2 separate regions of the Homo sapiens genome follow, and region 1 is linked to region 2. The links are contacts of gene promoters, found by promoter capture Hi-C in blood cells and fetal thymus (Javierre and others, 2016). All regions are on one chromosome and are shown on one strand. The core of a region is centred on a gene start or on the middle of the fragment in contact, and the rest is flanking DNA. Distances in the headings are between cores, read along the strand shown. Region 1 has its middle 5.3 kb from the start of HTATIP2. Region 2 holds the start of NAV2-AS3 (NAV2 antisense RNA 3).

Region 1 (3,766 bases), core at 51-2,550, 380 kb before region 2:
GATAATGTGACAAGACCTAGGCTCCTAGAGCAACCGGACCACAAAAATTCAGGGCAAAGGGGAAGGGGAAAGCATAGGGAAGGAGGGAAAGGGGACATAAAGAAACGGAGCTGGCATGGAAAGATCCTTGGCCAGAGACCTGCCTGCCACGTTCAGGTTTGCCTTTGATGAAGTCTCTTCATATATCTTGGCCTCCATTTCCCTATCTGTAAGATGGGAACTGTTTCATTACATTCGCTTTGCTCCAAGGAACAAACTGACTCATGGCGAGTAAAGATGGTGAATATTGTAATATTGTAAGGCTATAAATCATGTATAAGAGAGACAGAATCTCAGAGAAATCTCAAAACAGGATCTGCTGTAGGATGGGGCCTTAGGGAGACTGGAACTGTATTTAGGTCAGATTTAGAGTCCTCAGGATCAGGGATCCATGCATCTTCACTTCAGAGCTATATTTTTAGTTATACCTTCATTAAGACTCTGTTTCACGTGTTTGAAGCCCCAAACTCAAAATGTTTTGAGGAAAAAAAAAAAGGAAATGTCCTGGCTCATGCAACTAAAGAATCAGTGTATATAATAGTCTTGGCATGACCAGAATCAGCCAGTCAGCCAATGGGGCCAGGACCCAGTCCCTCTGCCAACCATGGCTCTATTTCCCTTCACGTCGGCCTTACTCTCAGACCCTGCAAGATGACCCAAAGGCTGTGCTCTTGCTCATACTCTTCATTGTCTAAATTCAACCAGAAGCTAGAGGGAACTTATATTGTGCAGACCAGTTTTCTTCAGGGCATACAATAAGGTAGATAAATGAGGAGAATGGATGATTGAAGCTATCAAGTACATCCCCCTAGATTCAAGTCCAGTAGAAAGAGCATAACTGTAAGCAGAAGTCCCCAGCTGTATCTCCTTAGTTCTGATTAAACCTTATGATTGTCACTGTGGCTCTGGGAATGAAGCCGGGTGGGGCTATCTCTTCCCACATGTCTGGGAGTAGGGGAGGAAGTAAGGTCCCCAAGGAAAGTAGAGGTCACTATTATAGAAAGAAAACAGAACGGATGTTAAATAGCATCTAAAGTGGCTATACTTGTTCCCCATTTATCTCATTTATTTGTAAATATGAATGCTAGATAATTTTTTTTTTTTTTTAACAAATGAGAGCTTTAAATAACTGTAGCATGACTAAGATATCTGGTTGGGCACATAAGAGGTTGGATTTGGTAAAGGTAGGTGTCTGAAAGAAAGTATTGTAATTTTCTGCTCTCACATAACAAATACAACCATGAATTGCATTCAACAGTTTAGGTAGTTGATTTAGTGTATCTATCGTGTTCTTGATAGCTAATTGTTTTTATAGATGGAGAAACTGAGTCACACGTTTATTAAATATATCATCTAAGATCTTGGGATTCAACTTTGGTGCCAGGACAAGAACCTGGATATCCAGATCAATGACAAAATCATGAGTAATACCTGTGTAATTCTAGAATGTTTTCAGGAAAGCATAATTCTTCTTGTTTTTAGCTGATAGCACTGTATTTGTTAAATTCTTCAGGTTCCCTAGCACTCATGGGTATGTCCTCTTACTGATATATACCAAAGGAATAACCTATGTAAAAGCACTGTGGTAGGTAGAAGTATGGCTGGTTTTGAAGGGCCAAAAACCAATATGCTTGAAATGGAGAGATGGAAGCATGGGGCAGGGGCAGGGCAGGGGAGGGGAGACTAGAGAGGCAGGTAGGGACCAGCCTGTGAAGGACATCATAAGATACATTATCATTTATAATTATTGTTAAATTTTAGGTTTTAAAATTTAGCAAACTTGATTTTATTAGATTTATTTTTTATGGTTTTCTTCTATTCAAGGTAGTGAAATATTACCTTAATTACCATTAATACATTTATTAGTACCTGTTACTAGTAGTACATTTAACAAAGTTTAAAAAAAAAGAGGACGTTTTCATAAAATATTAAGTACAGCTGAGTGTATTGTAAACATAGGATATGGTAAACTCATGAAAATAGTATCTGAAGGAGTAAAGTTTGGGAAACACTGGTATGTTGGGCATTTTTCTTTTTTCTTTCTTTTGTGAGATATGATCTTGCTCTGTCGCCCAGGCTGTAGGGCAGTGGCATGATCTCAGCTCATTGCAACCTCTGCCTCCCGGGTTCAAGCTCCCACAGCCTCCCGTGTGGCTGAGACTACAGACACGCATCTTTTTTTTTTTTTTCTCCAGAAACAGGGTTTTGTCATGTTGCCCAGGCTGGTCTTGAACTCCTGAGCTCGAGTAATTATCTGTGTCAGCCTCCCAAGTACTGGGATTACAGGCACATTTTTCATTTGCCCCTCCAGATCCACTTTCCACTCTCTGTATCCTTTTCTGTGACTCCACAGCTGACCTCTAAGGCCTGCATCACCCAGTCTACCTTGTCCTCCTTGACCTATCACCTACCTTGGTGATAAGAGTCACCAGTAGGAAATTGAAGCAGAGGAGGAGTATGGGGTTAGGGGCTTTATTCCCCTGAATTCCTGCTATGAGATTGCTATTCCTCGACCCAAGAGCCTCACTCCTGTCTGATAGCCTCCCTGACAGCTGCAGGCACTCTCTCCAGGTTCCAGTAACCACCTCCTTGCCTCAACCTTTTAGACTTAGGAGTAGAAATGGCTCCCCGCTATTGCTAGCACTGAGACACAGCACCATTCCTTGTTGGGTTTTCTTTAACCCTTCCTGCTTCCTTGTAAATAATCTTTCACTAAATTCTCCCTCAGTTACTCTGTTGGAACATGTTCTCTGTTTCTTGCCAGGACCCAAACTGATACACATGATGTGGTAGAAAGCAACTTTGCAGTCAGACGGAAGTAGATTTGAATCCTGGCCATCCACTTAGTAGCTGTGTGACCTCAGTGAAGTCCAACTAGATAAGCACAATATTTATCAAAACAGGAAGACTCTGCTCTGTGAGGTCAGCCACCACATCTATCTCACTGCTACAGCCCCAGCTTTGGGGCAGTGTTTGGCACTTAGTAGGTGCTCAAGAAAAATGTTTTCATGGGGTAGATTTCACCATACCTTATGCATGAGACCTAGGAGAGTAAGAGGTGAACTAGTCAAACATACTTTATGGATGACCCCCAAGAATGTAGCAAGACTTGTGCAAGTAGTGGATCTTAGACACACTCTTTAATGCAGGCAACAAAAGGAAGGGTTGAGGCTGGTAAAAAAAATTAGAAAACATGTCAAGGAACTGACTGGCAAAGAGCACCCTGCCTACTACACCACCATGTCCCTAGAGATCTCATCTCCTCCCCCACTATCACTCCACCTCAAAAGCCAGTTCCCTTCTGAAGGGGGACTCTGTTGAGAGGGCATGTCTTCTTTCTGATGAGGAGGGAACATGAGGGAAGGCACACAAAGAGACCTGAGGGTCCCAGGGAGAAGACAGTGAAGGAACAACCAGATGGGCAGAGGATTTATGCAAGACCAGGGCTGGATTGGCAGGGAAGCCACAGATGTCATGGTCCCTGAAAGTCAAAAAGAGGTGATGAGCTGGTATATTAGTTTCCTAAGGCTGCTGTAACAAATGACCACACACTGGATGGTTTACAACACCAGAAACTTACTCTCTCAGAAGTCTGAAATTGAAGTGTCAGCAGGACCATGTTCCCTCTGCAGGTTCTAGGGGAGAATGCTCCCTTCCCTCTTCCCACTTCTGATGGCTCCAGGCGTTCCTCGGGTTGTGGCTGTAAAACTCCCATCTCTGCCTCTGT
Region 2 (3,726 bases), core at 736-3,235:
ACAAAGCTGTCTTCTGATGAAATCAGTGCTGTTCTTGAGAGGGAGGATGTCTGGAACTTTCTGTACAGATGGCTGATTGTCTACCAACCAGACAAGTTCCTGAAAGCTTAGCCACTAGTAGGAGGTAGCTCAGTCCAAGGCAGCTGTACCTCATATCTACCTTGGCTTCCTCACAGCCCCCATAAAGGAGACTGGTTTTGTCATTTCCCTCATCTTCAGAGGAGAACAGGAAGGCAAAGCAAAACTTGGGCAGAGCCAGAAACCAAACTTGGATCCCTTCAATCCCTTATGGGCCCCATCAGATCACCCTGCAAGGTATCTGAAAATGCAAGCATTTTACATTTCAAATCAAGTAATATGTAGTAAGAGGACCAATGAGTCATTATTTTTCTGAAACAGGGTCAGCTGAGCTACGTCATGGAAAGCTTAATTGCACTTGCCATTTTAACTTTTGCATATATGGAGTCGACCCTGAGGGTTCCCAATCCTTGAATTTCTTCTACCTGTAGCTGGGGACCTTTTTAGGATATATTTTTCAAGAACAGAATTATGAGATGCAGACGAGGCTGCCCAGACCAGGAAGTTCAAGTAAGGGGCAGAGAAGAAAATTCTCACTGGAGTTATCTCATGTGAAAAGCACCTTCCAGAATGGGTAAGAGGAACCCAGGAAGCTTCTAAGCTACTGTGGCTAAATTCAACACCTCCAATGTTCCCTGCTCCTCCCTTTATGACATTAATGATCCCCAAGGTCACAATATCAACATAATGAGAAATCTGTTGGAGTAAATCAGACTAAGTGTTTGTGCTTGTGCTGAAAATGCAACAGAAGAGACTGAAGTTTTCACTCAACTTTATCATTTTAAAAACCACTCTGTGAATACATTAAAAACCATCAAATTGTATGCTTTAAAATGGTGAATTTTTAGCCGGGCACGTGGCATGCACCTGTTGTAGTCCCAGCTACTTGGGAGGCTGAGGCAGGAGAATCACTTGAACCCGGGAGGTGGAGGTTGCAGTGAGCCGAGATCGTGCCACTGCTCTCCAGCCTGGGCGACAGAGTGAGATTCCGTCTCAAAAAACAAAACAAAACAAAACAAAAACAAAAACAAAACAAAAAAGAAAACCCCAAAAATAAATAAATAAAATGGTGAATTTCATGATATATGAATTAAATCTCAATAAAAATATAAAAAATGATTACAGCTATAGTTAAATAATTATTTGTTTAATTGCCCTTCAATGCATGTCTCTCACACTAAATAGTAAGCTCTTTGCAGGCAGAGATTCTTATTTTGTTCAAATCTATATCCCATGAGCTTAGTACATACTAGGTGCTTATTAAATGCTGTTTTTGTTGAATGAATGAACACATGAATGAATGAAGCCCAAAGACACAGCCATAGGGCTGTGCAAATTTTTTTTGCAAGAACACTGATTACAGGTTTTCTTTCCTCTTAAGCTTTAACAAACTTACATTTAAGACATATGACAAGCAAATTAAACTGTCGATCTGCCAATCTACCCATCATCCATCCATCCAGCCACCCTCCAACAGATAGAGTGACTCAGGGTAGAGTAATGGGTTATGGGCATCCATCCTACAGGTAGCACAAGGAGGAAAAAACACCTACACCAAAATGCCATAACTTTGCCAGAGGCTGGACTTTCTAGACCCCACGTCCTTTCAAGGAGAACTCAGTGGAAGCTCTTCAAAATACCATCTATTACACCATTAAGCAAGGCAGTTAATTTTGATCTTAGCCAAGTCTGCCCAGCCAGTTAGATAAACAAAATTCTTTCAACTGGGGAGATCTTGTCAAAGGACAAACAAACTAATTTTAGCATTCATTTCCCTGCTGGATTTTTATTGCTGGTGAAACAACACACACGGTTGGGTAATTACACACACACAGGCATGTAGACAAGGCCCACATGTACAGAACCCTGGCTTCCTGCTAAGGCCAGACTGTGGGGCCTGGTGAGCATTCCAGACACAGAATGCTGAGAAACGTTGCAGCCCCAGCCCAGCTACACCCGGGTGCAACGTGGATGTATCAGAAAACGACAACCCCAGAAAAGCGGGAAAGCCTCTGAGAAATGGGACTGAAATGGAACTGAACATGTGAGCTGGGCTTGCTGTTGGGAATTCTGACTTTGTTTTGGCAGAGGGGAGGGGAAAGGCAAAGCTAAATCAGGATCTTCTGCCTTCTCAAACTGTAGGAAGAAATGAAAGTCAGGGAGGTGAATGCAACTAGTCTGACAATGATCTAGTTTCAAGACTGCAAGTCTATTTCACTTATCGTGCGCATGTAGAGGGAGGGCAGGCAGAGTGATAAGGAAAATGGGGAACTTACCTCTTCTTTTAGAGATATGTAAACACATGTTCAACTGTTTTTTAAACAACAATATTCTTTGAAATAAATTCTGTTGTATGTCTCTCCTTGGGAGACGGCACAGCACCAGAGACAGAGCTGTGGTTAGAGCCAGCCTCACACTCAAGAAATTAATTTAAAATGTTTCTAAATTATTATCCACCAATTACAATGATTTACAAACAGCTCTGTATATATTTTTAAATAACTCCTGTATTATACAGTCAATGAAAAATATACAAATTTGGGTTTGCTGGACCAAAATTTGTATAGGAATTGGCTATTGTATACATCAATATAGACTGCCTTAACAAAGTGAAGGCCTTAAGAAAGCATAATTTACAGATGAAGCAGCCACGGGTGTGTTTATCTGAAACACTGGCTTTTGCCCAGAAGTGTTAAAAAAGCTTGTGTTTCTGAAGGTTCAGGGAGCCAGAGGACTGATGGCCTCATCCTCCACTTGAGGAGCTTTTATAAGAGGCTCACACTGGGTGAAGAAGAAATGACTTGTCTGAGGTCACAAGCAAAGGAACCAGCTGATCCAAGAACTCAATCTCAGAACACCCATGCCACACTTTCCTTCTCCTTGGAGAGATAAATAATTAGTGCTGGAGCCTAATGAGGTGCTGGTAACATCCTAATGTCTTCTGAGTGGACTCTTGCCTCAGTTGCTAAGCTACTGAACCATCTCCCCATTACCCTCCCGAGTTCTGCCATGATAGGTGGGTGGAGGCGGCTCTCCGCATCCACCTTCTTAAGCTTCCCCAGAGACCCCTGGATGGAAAGAGTCAGAGCCTCTGCTAAAGGGACAAGGTGTCTGTGGGGTGTTTTTCTTGCTTCCCTGGGGTGGCCCATGAGCATCAGGGTTAAGGAACATGACTGTTGTTAGACCCAAGTTGTTCAAATGCCTTCTCTGCCCCTTGCTGGCTGAAGGACCTAGTATACATCATTGTTAGTAAGCACTAATGGTACTAAATGCTCACTGGGTACTGTGTTAAGTGCTTCACATAAATCATGGCATTCAACCTTCAAAATAATCTTATCAAGTGTTATTGTCATCTCTATTGTTCAGATGAGGAAAACAGAGCTGTGGTTAAGATCCCAGCGCAGGCAGGTGAGTTCAAATCCCAACTGTCGCATTTCAGCGCAATTTCTTCTAGTTTAAGTTCCCTCATAGGATTGTGGCAGGTTAAATGAGACAGTGCATATGTTTAGAAAGCCCAGTGCCTGGCATATAGGGAGCACTTCCTAATCATTAGCTGCTTACAGGAGTGGCAAGACCTAGTTCCTGCTCTGGTGAAGCTCAAAACCTACTAGGGACTAAGACATGCAAATAGCTCTACTGCTACATAAA

The links. The method cuts DNA at HindIII sites, captures the fragments that hold promoters and counts their contacts. A CHiCAGO score of 5 or more calls a contact.
Region 1: a fragment that was not itself captured here is called in contact with the fragment with the promoter of NAV2-AS3 in region 2 in 1 of 17 cell types (erythroblasts); the score reaches 6.1 in erythroblasts.

What each region holds. Positions count from the first base shown.
Region 1 is chr11:20,356,514-20,360,279 of GRCh38, reverse strand. No RefSeq gene overlaps it. Among named protein-coding and RNA genes, the nearest start is that of HTATIP2, 5.3 kb to the left of the region's middle. The HindIII fragment of the contact is 7,195 bases long and covers 1-3,766 here.
Region 2 is chr11:19,979,633-19,983,358 of GRCh38, reverse strand. NAV2-AS3 (NAV2 antisense RNA 3) reads left to right here and starts at 1,985. Exons shown (of 2, transcript NR_174949.1): 1 at 1,985-2,122. All of the region lies in intron 10 of NAV2 (neuron navigator 2), which reads right to left. RefSeq lists an enhancer at 3,679-3,726. The HindIII fragment of the contact is 1,320 bases long and covers 1,462-2,781 here.